3 separate regions of the Homo sapiens genome follow, and regions 2 and 3 are each linked to region 1. The links are contacts of gene promoters, found by promoter capture Hi-C in human tissues and cell types (Jung and others, 2019). All regions are on one chromosome and are shown on one strand. The core of a region is centred on a gene start or on the middle of the fragment in contact, and the rest is flanking DNA. Distances in the headings are between cores, read along the strand shown.

Region 1 (2,801 bases), core at 112-2,611:
TGTTGGTGGGGATGTAAATTAGTATGACCACTATGGAAGGCAGTATGGAGGTTTCTCAAAAAACTAAAAACAGAACTGCCATAAAATCCAGCAGTTCCACTACAGTGTATCTATCCAAAGGAAAAGAAGTCAGTATATCAAAGGGATACCTGCACTCACATGTTTATCACAGAACTATTCAAAATAGCCAAGATATGGAATAAATCTAAGTGTCCATCAGCGAACAAATGGAAAAAGAAAGAATGGTATATATACATAACGGAATACCATTTGTCCATGGAAAAGAATGAAAACAGGTCATTTGCAGCAACATGGATGAACTGGAGGCCATTATGTTCAATGAAATAGGCCAGGCAACAGAAAGACAAATACTGCATGTTTTACTCATATGTGGTAGCTAAAAAAGTTGATCCCCTGGAGATAGAGAACAAAATTATGAGTACCAGAGACTGGAAAGGATGTGAGGGTGGGAAGGGGAAATGAAGAGAGGTTGGTGAATGGGTACAAACTTATAGTTAGATGGAAGAAATAGGGTCTAATGTTAGCTAGCAACTGGGGTGACTATAGTTAGCAATGATACATTGTATATTTCAAAATAGCTAGAAGAGAAGATTTGAAATGTTACCAACGTATATAAATGATAAATACTCAAGGTGATGGATACCCCAAATACCCTTCTTCTTTTTCTTCCTCTTCTTTTTTCTTCTTCTTCCTCTTCTTTGATCTCTCCTTGTTCTCCTCCTTCTCCTTGTTCTCCTTCTTCTCCTTCTCTTTCTTCTTTTCCTCCTGTTCTTCCTCTTCTCCTCCTCCTCTTCCTCTCCCTCTCCTTCTCCTTCTTGTTATTCTTTCTTCTTTCTTCTTCTTTTTTGAGACAGAGTCTCATTTTGTTGCCCAGGCTGGAGTGCAGTGGCTCGATCTCGGTTCACTGTAAACTCCGCCTCCTGGGTTGATCCTTCCACGTCAGCATCCTGAGCTGGTGGGACCACAGGCGCACGCCACCACGGCCGCCTAATTTCTTACAGAAAAAAAAACGGTTTCTGCTACCTTGCCCAGGCTGGTCTTGAACTCCCAGGCTCAGTCGAGCGCCACCCCCTCCACAAAGTGGTAGGATTATTTGCGTGAGCCACGGAGCCCTGCGGAGACTCTGGTTTTACTTTCTGCTCACCTAAGAAGCTCCTGCTGTGTCCCTAAGTGTTCCCGCCTCGCCTCTCCCCACACCCACTGCTCCCTAACTTCTCTCACAGGCCCCCAACGGCTTCCTCCTGCGCTGGCGCACGCTCAGGTCTTACCCGCCAGCAGGTGGCGAAACACGATTTTCTGTCCTCTGCGGCTGAGCCCTAGCGTCCCCTCTTCTCTAAGGCCTTTCGCCTAGTTCCAGCCTGGATACGCTTCCATAGCAAAGGGTTGCCCTTGGCTACAGGAGGACGCGGGCTGGCAGGCTTGGTTCCTGGCGAGTTTCTAAGCCCCCGCCTGCGGTCTGAGGCACCGGCTGAACCATGTCGGAGATCCTGTGCCAGTGGCTCAACAAGGAGTTGAAGGTGTCCCGGACCGTGAGTGAGTGACCACGGCCAGGGGCGAGCGTCTGAGGGGCTAGCGGGGCGCAGAGCCTGCAGCGCAGCGCAGCGCACTCAGGGAAGGTGGCGGGCAGGGCGCGAGCTGCACAGGTGGGGCACCTGCGTAGCCGGCAGCATCCCACAGTGAGCAACTCGGCTCGGCGGTGCCCCAGGTCCGTCCCGCCACCTCCCTACAGCTCACCCCAGCCAGGGCAAGGCCTTGTCACGTCCCCACTCTGCCGCTCTCGAGTTACCCTTGTCACGGTGGGCCCAACCCGCAGGCATTCTGACTTTGTGATGTGGTTCTAGGCAATCAGAGGGTTTAGGAAGGTCTCCTTTGCTTCTGTGGAGAGGGAACTTTGCTGGACTTTGTAGTCTGACCCCAACGATGCCTCCTTCACATCACCAGAAGCAGAAGCATGGTGTGGTGGCTAGTCGATGAAATATGAAGCCACTGGACAAGTTACAATACCTTCTCTGAATGTGTTTCCTTCTCTATAAAATGGACCTAATAATGCTTTCCATACTTAACTGACCAGCAGGGGAGGGTGGGTGAAAAATAAGTTAATGTAGAATATGTTAACATTTACAAATTTTAGTAAATTTTAAGCCCCAAATCACAAACTAGCTATTTCTGGTCACTATTGGCTCTTGCCCAAAGCTGACCTTATTCACCAACCTAATTTTATCCTAACCATGCAGTTGCCACCCAAAGTTTCCAAGTCTGACAACCACAGAGACAATTTTACATGCTGGCAGCTTCCTTGACTGCCCTGTAATTCTTCAGGAGTTCATTTTTCAGTTGGTTTTGTTTGTCTTTTTTTCTTTTTTTGCTTAAGGGAAGAGGTTTTCAGGGCAAGTCATTTCAGTCCATTTTCCCAGAAGAACTTGCTTAACACCAGCTTGCTACCAGAGAGGCAGTGGTGCCAGTTCAACCTTAGCTTATCTACAGAAGTTGCTAGATCGGTAGTGTTTCTGTGGGTGCAAAGTAGTTATTAATACTCTCAGCATGAGGATCTTTAGCACGGAGCATCTCCTGTTGCATTTCTTGAGGCATAAACCTCAGACTCTTTCTTTGTCAAATAACCATCTACACACTCCCTGTGAACTGCAATAAATTCTTTCCTGGTATTCTACGATTATCCCATTGTGTCTCCAACTGTTTATTTGCTAAAATATGATGGACTGAGGACAATATTTAGCATTTATTGTTTCTTATTCCTGTCTCACCATAGGAGCCAAAATAAA
Region 2 (3,169 bases), core at 386-2,885, 320 kb before region 1:
TCCCTAAAGTAAATATATATATATTCCCCTATTTTTAATTATAGTACCGTGTAGTCTGTAGGGTTTTTTTCATGTTAAATCTTAAATCCACATGGAATTGATTTTATACATTGTTCCCAACTGTTTCAGCACTGTTTGCTGTTATAATCCATTATTTTCTCCCTTATCTGTAGGTCACAATTATTTTTTCATAAATCATTTACATTTTACATGGGCTTGTTTCTGGCTTTTCTGATATATTGTATTCTATTGATTCTATTTATTCAACCTTGTGTTGGGACTCACTATCTTAACTGTAGATTTATAATATGCCTTCGTGGCTGGCAGAAGTGTATTGGCTAATTTGGGTCTTATCTCTTTCATATTAATTTTAGGATCAGGTTGGCAATTTTCAAGAAACAATCTATCAAGATGGATCATAACTGCTATGAATTTATTTAGAGAGTACTGATAATTTTATGATATTGAGTCCTTCTATCAAGGTCATGGTGCTTATATCTTTTCATTTGTCTACTGTCTTTTACAAAATTTTATATTTTTTATCAGGCCTTGAGTATTTTTGTTAGAATTATTCCTAAGTATACCATGTTACTGTTATTGGGATTAATACCTAATACTTAAAGTTACCTTTTTAAAATGATTATTGCTGGAATATAAACATGCCAATAGTTTTGGTACGTTGCTTTTGTATTAAGCAAACTAACTAAACTCTCTTATTTACTCTAATAAGTTATCCTTAGATTTTTGAATTTTGTACGTAGACAATTTTACAATCTGCAAATAATGATAGCTTTGTTTTTATATCTCTAATCCTTCTTCTTGTTTTACTGTCTAGACTTTTTAGAACCTCCATATAATTAGTGATATATAGAATCTTTACATTGTTGCCAGTCTTAAAGGAAATGCTTTTAACATTTAATCGTTAATAATTATGTTTGCTGTGTCTTGTTTTGTTTTTTACTTGTTTGTCTTTTTGTAGATGTCTTTTAATGAGTTGTATCAATTTGCTAGTGCTGCCAAAACAAAGTTTCACAGGCTGGATGACTTAAACAACAGGAATTTGTTTTCTTATTGTTCTGGAGTGGAGATGTTCAAGATCAAGGTGTTGACAGGGTTAATTTTATTCTGTGGCCTCTCTCCTTGGCTTGTAGAAGACCATCTTCCTGCTAGTATCCTCAGTCTGTACTCTGTATGTGTCTATGTCTTAATCTCTTCTTATAAAGACACCAGTCATATTGGATTAGGGCCTGTCCTAAAGACCACATTTTAACTTAATTACTTCTTTAAATTATTAATTTCCAAATATGGTTACATTCTGAGGTCCTGGAGGTTAGGACTTCAACATACAAATTCAAGACGGAATACAAGTCAACCTGTAACAAAGGTTAATAGCATATGAGCTGGAATTCTGAAGAGTATTGAATGAAAGAAAATTTATATAGGCATAGACAGAGCTAGGGCAATGAATAGCGTATGGTAAAGCACGTAATAGGAAGCTGTTTATCTTTTCTAGACCTGCTGTTACTATACTAGTGAGAGCTGGACTTGGAACAAGGGACTGTCTAGTAGGAGTTGTAGTTATATAGCCTGAGCTGCAGCATTCATCAGGGAAGGGAGGAAATACCCTGACTTTCTTCTCATCTCTTCCCACCCTTGAATTTCTTGCTCACATGCAGCTAAGGGTAAGGCACCTAAGTGATGCAGCCCTTAGGGGTTGGACTCCCAGATGCCAGATCAAGGGAGAGGTAGGCAGAGGATAGATCTGCAAGGCAAAAAGGAAATAAAGAGCACCTCTCCAATTCCTAATGTGCTGAGAGATTTTATTGCAAATGAATTTTCATTTTATTGAATGCTTTTTAAAATATCTTTAAAAAATAACCATTTAATACAGTGAATTACAAATAATTTAACATAGTGAATTACAAATAATTAGTTTCCTGTTTTCCTAGGACAAATCCCAATTGGTCATGAAAAATTATCTTTCATATTATTACTGGTTTTGGTGTGCTGATATTTTACGCAGAATTTTCCCACCTGTATTCATGAGTGAGACTGGCCTTGTAATTTTCTTTCTTGTACTACTCTTTGAATTTGATGACAAGGTTAGGTTGGCCTCATAACATGATTTGGGGGATTTTGTTTTTCTTTTTTATTTTCAGGAAGATTTTGTGTAAGCCTGGAATTATCTGTCTCTTGAATGACAGGACTGGCAGTAAAGCTATGTGGACCTAGTAATTTTGTGTGTGTGAGAAAGATTTTACCTACCAATCAATTTTTTTTACACATTGTAGAAATATTTCTTTTTAAATGAATTTCAATAAGTTGTATTTTTTTCAAAAAATTTATCCATTTCAGCCAAAGTTAATCCATTTCTGACAAAAGTCTTTCACTATGTTCTTTTATTTTCTGTTAATTTCTATAGCACCTTTTATCATGTCCCCTTTTTCATTTCTAACACTGTTTACTTGTGCTTAACCTTTTTTTTTCTTCTCTTAATTAATATTTCCAAAGTTTGTCTCTTTTACTGGGCTTTTAAAGATTCAATTTCTGGCATTGCTGATATCGCTGTTATGTCTGTGTTTTTAATTTCACTAATTTCTGGTCTTACCTCTAATTTTTATTTCCCTCTTTCTTTGGATATATTCTCCTGTGTTTTTTTCTGTAAACTATTTTATGAGATGTTTGTAACTCATTAATTTTGAGAATTCGTTTCTGATGTGAACATATAGGCTGTAAGTTTCTCTCTCCAAGTGCAGCTTTAGGTTTAATGAACACATTTTTCTGTTTGTGATTTTTTTAAAAATTATTTTTAGATGTTACTAAGATGTCTTTTTAAATATCAATTAAATAGAATTATGTGTGTTTTTCAAATTTCCAAATAAAGGTTATTATTTGTTAGTTAATTTTTTATTGATTTTTTAATTCAATTGCCTTGTAGCGAGAAAATGTGATCTGTGGAATAGCCAATCTTTAGAATTTATTAATATTACCTGTATAGTCTAACATATGGCTAATTTTTGTAAGTGTTCAATATATGCTTAAGAAAAATGTGTATTCTCAAATTGTTGGGTACAACAAATTAGTTGAGATTTAAAATTTTTCTTTTAAATAATCTATATCTTTTAGATTTTTTTGTCTGCTTGATCTTTAGATTGCTAATATAAATGTT
Region 3 (2,877 bases), core at 196-2,695, 440 kb after region 1:
ATGTTAACAGATAGCCCCACATATTAAGGCCCTCATACTCAAGCTAATTGAAATGAAAGACTCTATCCAAGTATCTACTGGCAAATACTTTGCAGTCATAGAGTTGGCTAGAATGTTTTTTTCCATGCTGATTTTAACAGGCTCTCAGCCACAGTGTGTCTTTACCTTGGAAGAAACACAATGCATGGCTACTCATAGTATACTTCAACAGCCCTACTATTGCCCACAATCTTTGCCAGCAAGAGCCACTGCTTCCAGCTTTCTCCAGGAGTACAGATATAACATTACATTGAGGGTGTCCTCCTCTGAGGAGATTCATTTGCCACACTCATTTAAGACATAGAAACATTCAAAAAGGAGCTCACAAAGGGGATAAGCCATTGTCCCATGCAAAGTATCAGACCCAGTCCCTCACTTAAATTCCAAAGGATCATTTGGTTAGTTGAAGACCTCTCCATCCCCAATACTATTAAGAAACAATTATTGAGCATCTCTGTGCCCATAATGTTACAAGCCCAACATCTTTTAGGCCTTTTTTACACTTTAAAGACAACATATTCCTTATTTATAAATTTTACTTAGGTCCACTCATGTTTATTACTTGAAAATCAGCCCACATTGCATAGGAACCCCTGTAACAGAAGGCTCTAGAATCTGTCCAAGTTGCAATACAACAGGCTCTCTCATTAGTGCCCGCCAGGGACACCTGCACTGTAAAGGCTTTAGCATCCTCCTTTCATGCCTCCTGGAGTTCTTCTGAGCACCTATCATGGCTGTTTCAGTTTCCTATTGCTGCTTTAACAAATTACAACAAACTTAGTTGCTTAACACAACACAAGGTATTGTCTTATAGTTCTGGAGATCAGAAGTCCAAAATGGGTCTCATTAGAATAAAATCAAGGTGTGGGTAGAGCTGCATTTCTTCTGGAGGCTCTGGGGAACGATCCATTTTCTTGCCTTTTCCAGCTTCTCAAGGCTACCTGCATCCCTGGCTCATGGCCCCCTTCCAACAGGCAATCACATCACTCTGATTTCTTCTTCCATCATCACTTCTTTAACTCTCCTACCATCTTCTTTCCTTTATAACAGGGGTGTCCAATCTATTGGCTTCCCTGGGCCACATTGGAAGAAGAAGAATTGTCTTGGGCCACACATAAAATACAGTAACACTAATGATAGCTAATGAGCTAAAAAGAAATTGCAAAAACAATCTCATAATGTTTTAAGAAAGTTTATGAATTTGTGTTGGGCCACATTCAAAGCTGTCCTGGGCCACATGCAGCTGGTGGGCCACGAGTTAGACAAGCTTGCCTTATAAGAACTCTTGCATTTAAACTGGATTCACCTGGGTAATCCATGATAGTCTCCCTGTCTCAAAATCCTTATATTAATCACATCTGCAAAGATCCTTTTGCCTTTCGAACATGTAAAATAGCACATTCATAATTATAGGAATTCAGACATGTATATCTTTGGGAGGGAGCATTATTTGCCTACCACAGAGTGTTCTCTAGATCCCAGACATTCATATACACCCCTCTTGGAATGAAAATGTATTCATCTTGTCCCAACATCCCCCAAAGTCCCAAACAATTATATTATCAATTCAAAGTGAAAAATCTCATCTAAAGCTCATCAGCTCGGAATTCCCAAATCACATCATCCAAATAATCTACATCAAGTGTGGGTGAGAGTCTGGGTGTAATCCATTCAGTGGCAAAATTGCTCTCCTTCTGTGGATCTATGAAACTAGGAAAAAATGACCTGCTCCCCAAAACCAATAGTGGGACAGGCATAGGATACCAATTATAGACATTATTCTAATGGGGGCAAAAAGAAAGTAAAAAAAAAAATGAGGTGCCAGTCCCAAGACATTTTGACTCCAACTGGGCAAACAAAATTAGGTTTTAAGGACTGGAAATAATCCTGTGGTTTGGCTCAGCCTTCTGGGCTAGAAGCTCTGCCATCTGGGCTCATTGCTTCACCTTCAGAGTTTTCCTTCGTTTTTCATGAATCGTTGCATGTGGTTACAGCTGAGTGGTTTGTCAGTTTATTTCCTACTTGCAGAATCTGGGGAGTTCAACAGCCCTCCTTCCTGTCATATTCTCCTCCCTGTCATATTCTCCTCATACCTTTTAGTCCAAATTGGCAGTACTTCTGAAGGTATAAAATTCTTGGGTACCGGGAGGCTGAGGCAGGAGAATCGCTTAAACCTGGGAGGAGGAGGTTGCAGTGAGCTGAGATCACACCATGGCACTCCAGCCTGCATGACAAGAGCAAGACTTCATCTCAAAAAAAAAAATTTGGGGGGGTACCTTGTGACCCTCGTGGGTATGTCATAGTAATTCATTCCACTAAACAAGAGGCTGCTCTGCAGTTTGTTTTTTTTTTTCTTTTTTTAGACAGAGTCTCGTTCTGTCACCCACCCAGGCTGGAGTGCATGGCACAATCTTGGCTCACTGCAACCTCTGCCTCCCAGGTTCAAACGATTCATGTGCCTCGGTCCTCTGAGTAGCTGGGATTACAGGCACGAGCCACCATGCCTGGCTAATTTTTGTATTTTAGTAGAGACAGGGTTGCACCATGTTGGCCAGGCTGGTCTGAAACACCTGACCTCAGGTGATCCGCCTGCATCAGCCTCCCAAAGTGCTGGGATTACAGGTGTGAGCCACTGTGCCCGGCCTAGGATCCACTGACTTTTAGAAGAGCAAGACCACCAGCTAGTGTCTAGATGTTCACCTCATCATCCTTTTAATATGTTGCCTCTGTAATGTGGACCATTAAAATCTTTTATCTGGCTGGCTGCCTTATAGTAATATCCCCTCAATTATTTTACTCATTTACTTCTTTTCTTTTATCCCCAACTCCATGTGCCTC

Evidence for each region. Contacts are between HindIII fragments. The study calls those that stand out against the background at their distance.
Region 2: a fragment that was not itself captured here is called in contact with the fragment with the promoter of SPEF2 in region 1 in 1 of the 25 tissues and cell types used here (hippocampus).
Region 3: a fragment that was not itself captured here is called in contact with the fragment with the promoter of SPEF2 in region 1 in 1 of the 25 tissues and cell types used here (liver).

Annotation. Positions count from the first base shown.
Region 1 is chr5:35,616,502-35,619,302 of GRCh38, forward strand. It overlaps SPEF2 (sperm flagellar 2), which reads left to right and starts at 1,362. Exons shown (of 37, transcript NM_024867.4): 1 at 1,362-1,554. The coding sequence starts at 1,497. RefSeq lists an enhancer at 1,405-2,212. The HindIII fragment of the contact is 9,985 bases long and covers 1-2,801 here.
Region 2 is chr5:35,296,423-35,299,591 of GRCh38, forward strand. No RefSeq gene overlaps it. Among named protein-coding and RNA genes, the nearest start is that of PRLR, 68 kb to the left of the region's middle. The HindIII fragment of the contact is 7,725 bases long and covers 1-3,169 here.
Region 3 is chr5:36,052,849-36,055,725 of GRCh38, forward strand. The region is part of intron 2 of UGT3A2 (UDP glycosyltransferase family 3 member A2); the gene reads right to left. Among named protein-coding and RNA genes, the nearest start is that of UGT3A2, 13 kb to the right of the region's middle. The HindIII fragment of the contact is 9,095 bases long and covers 1-2,877 here.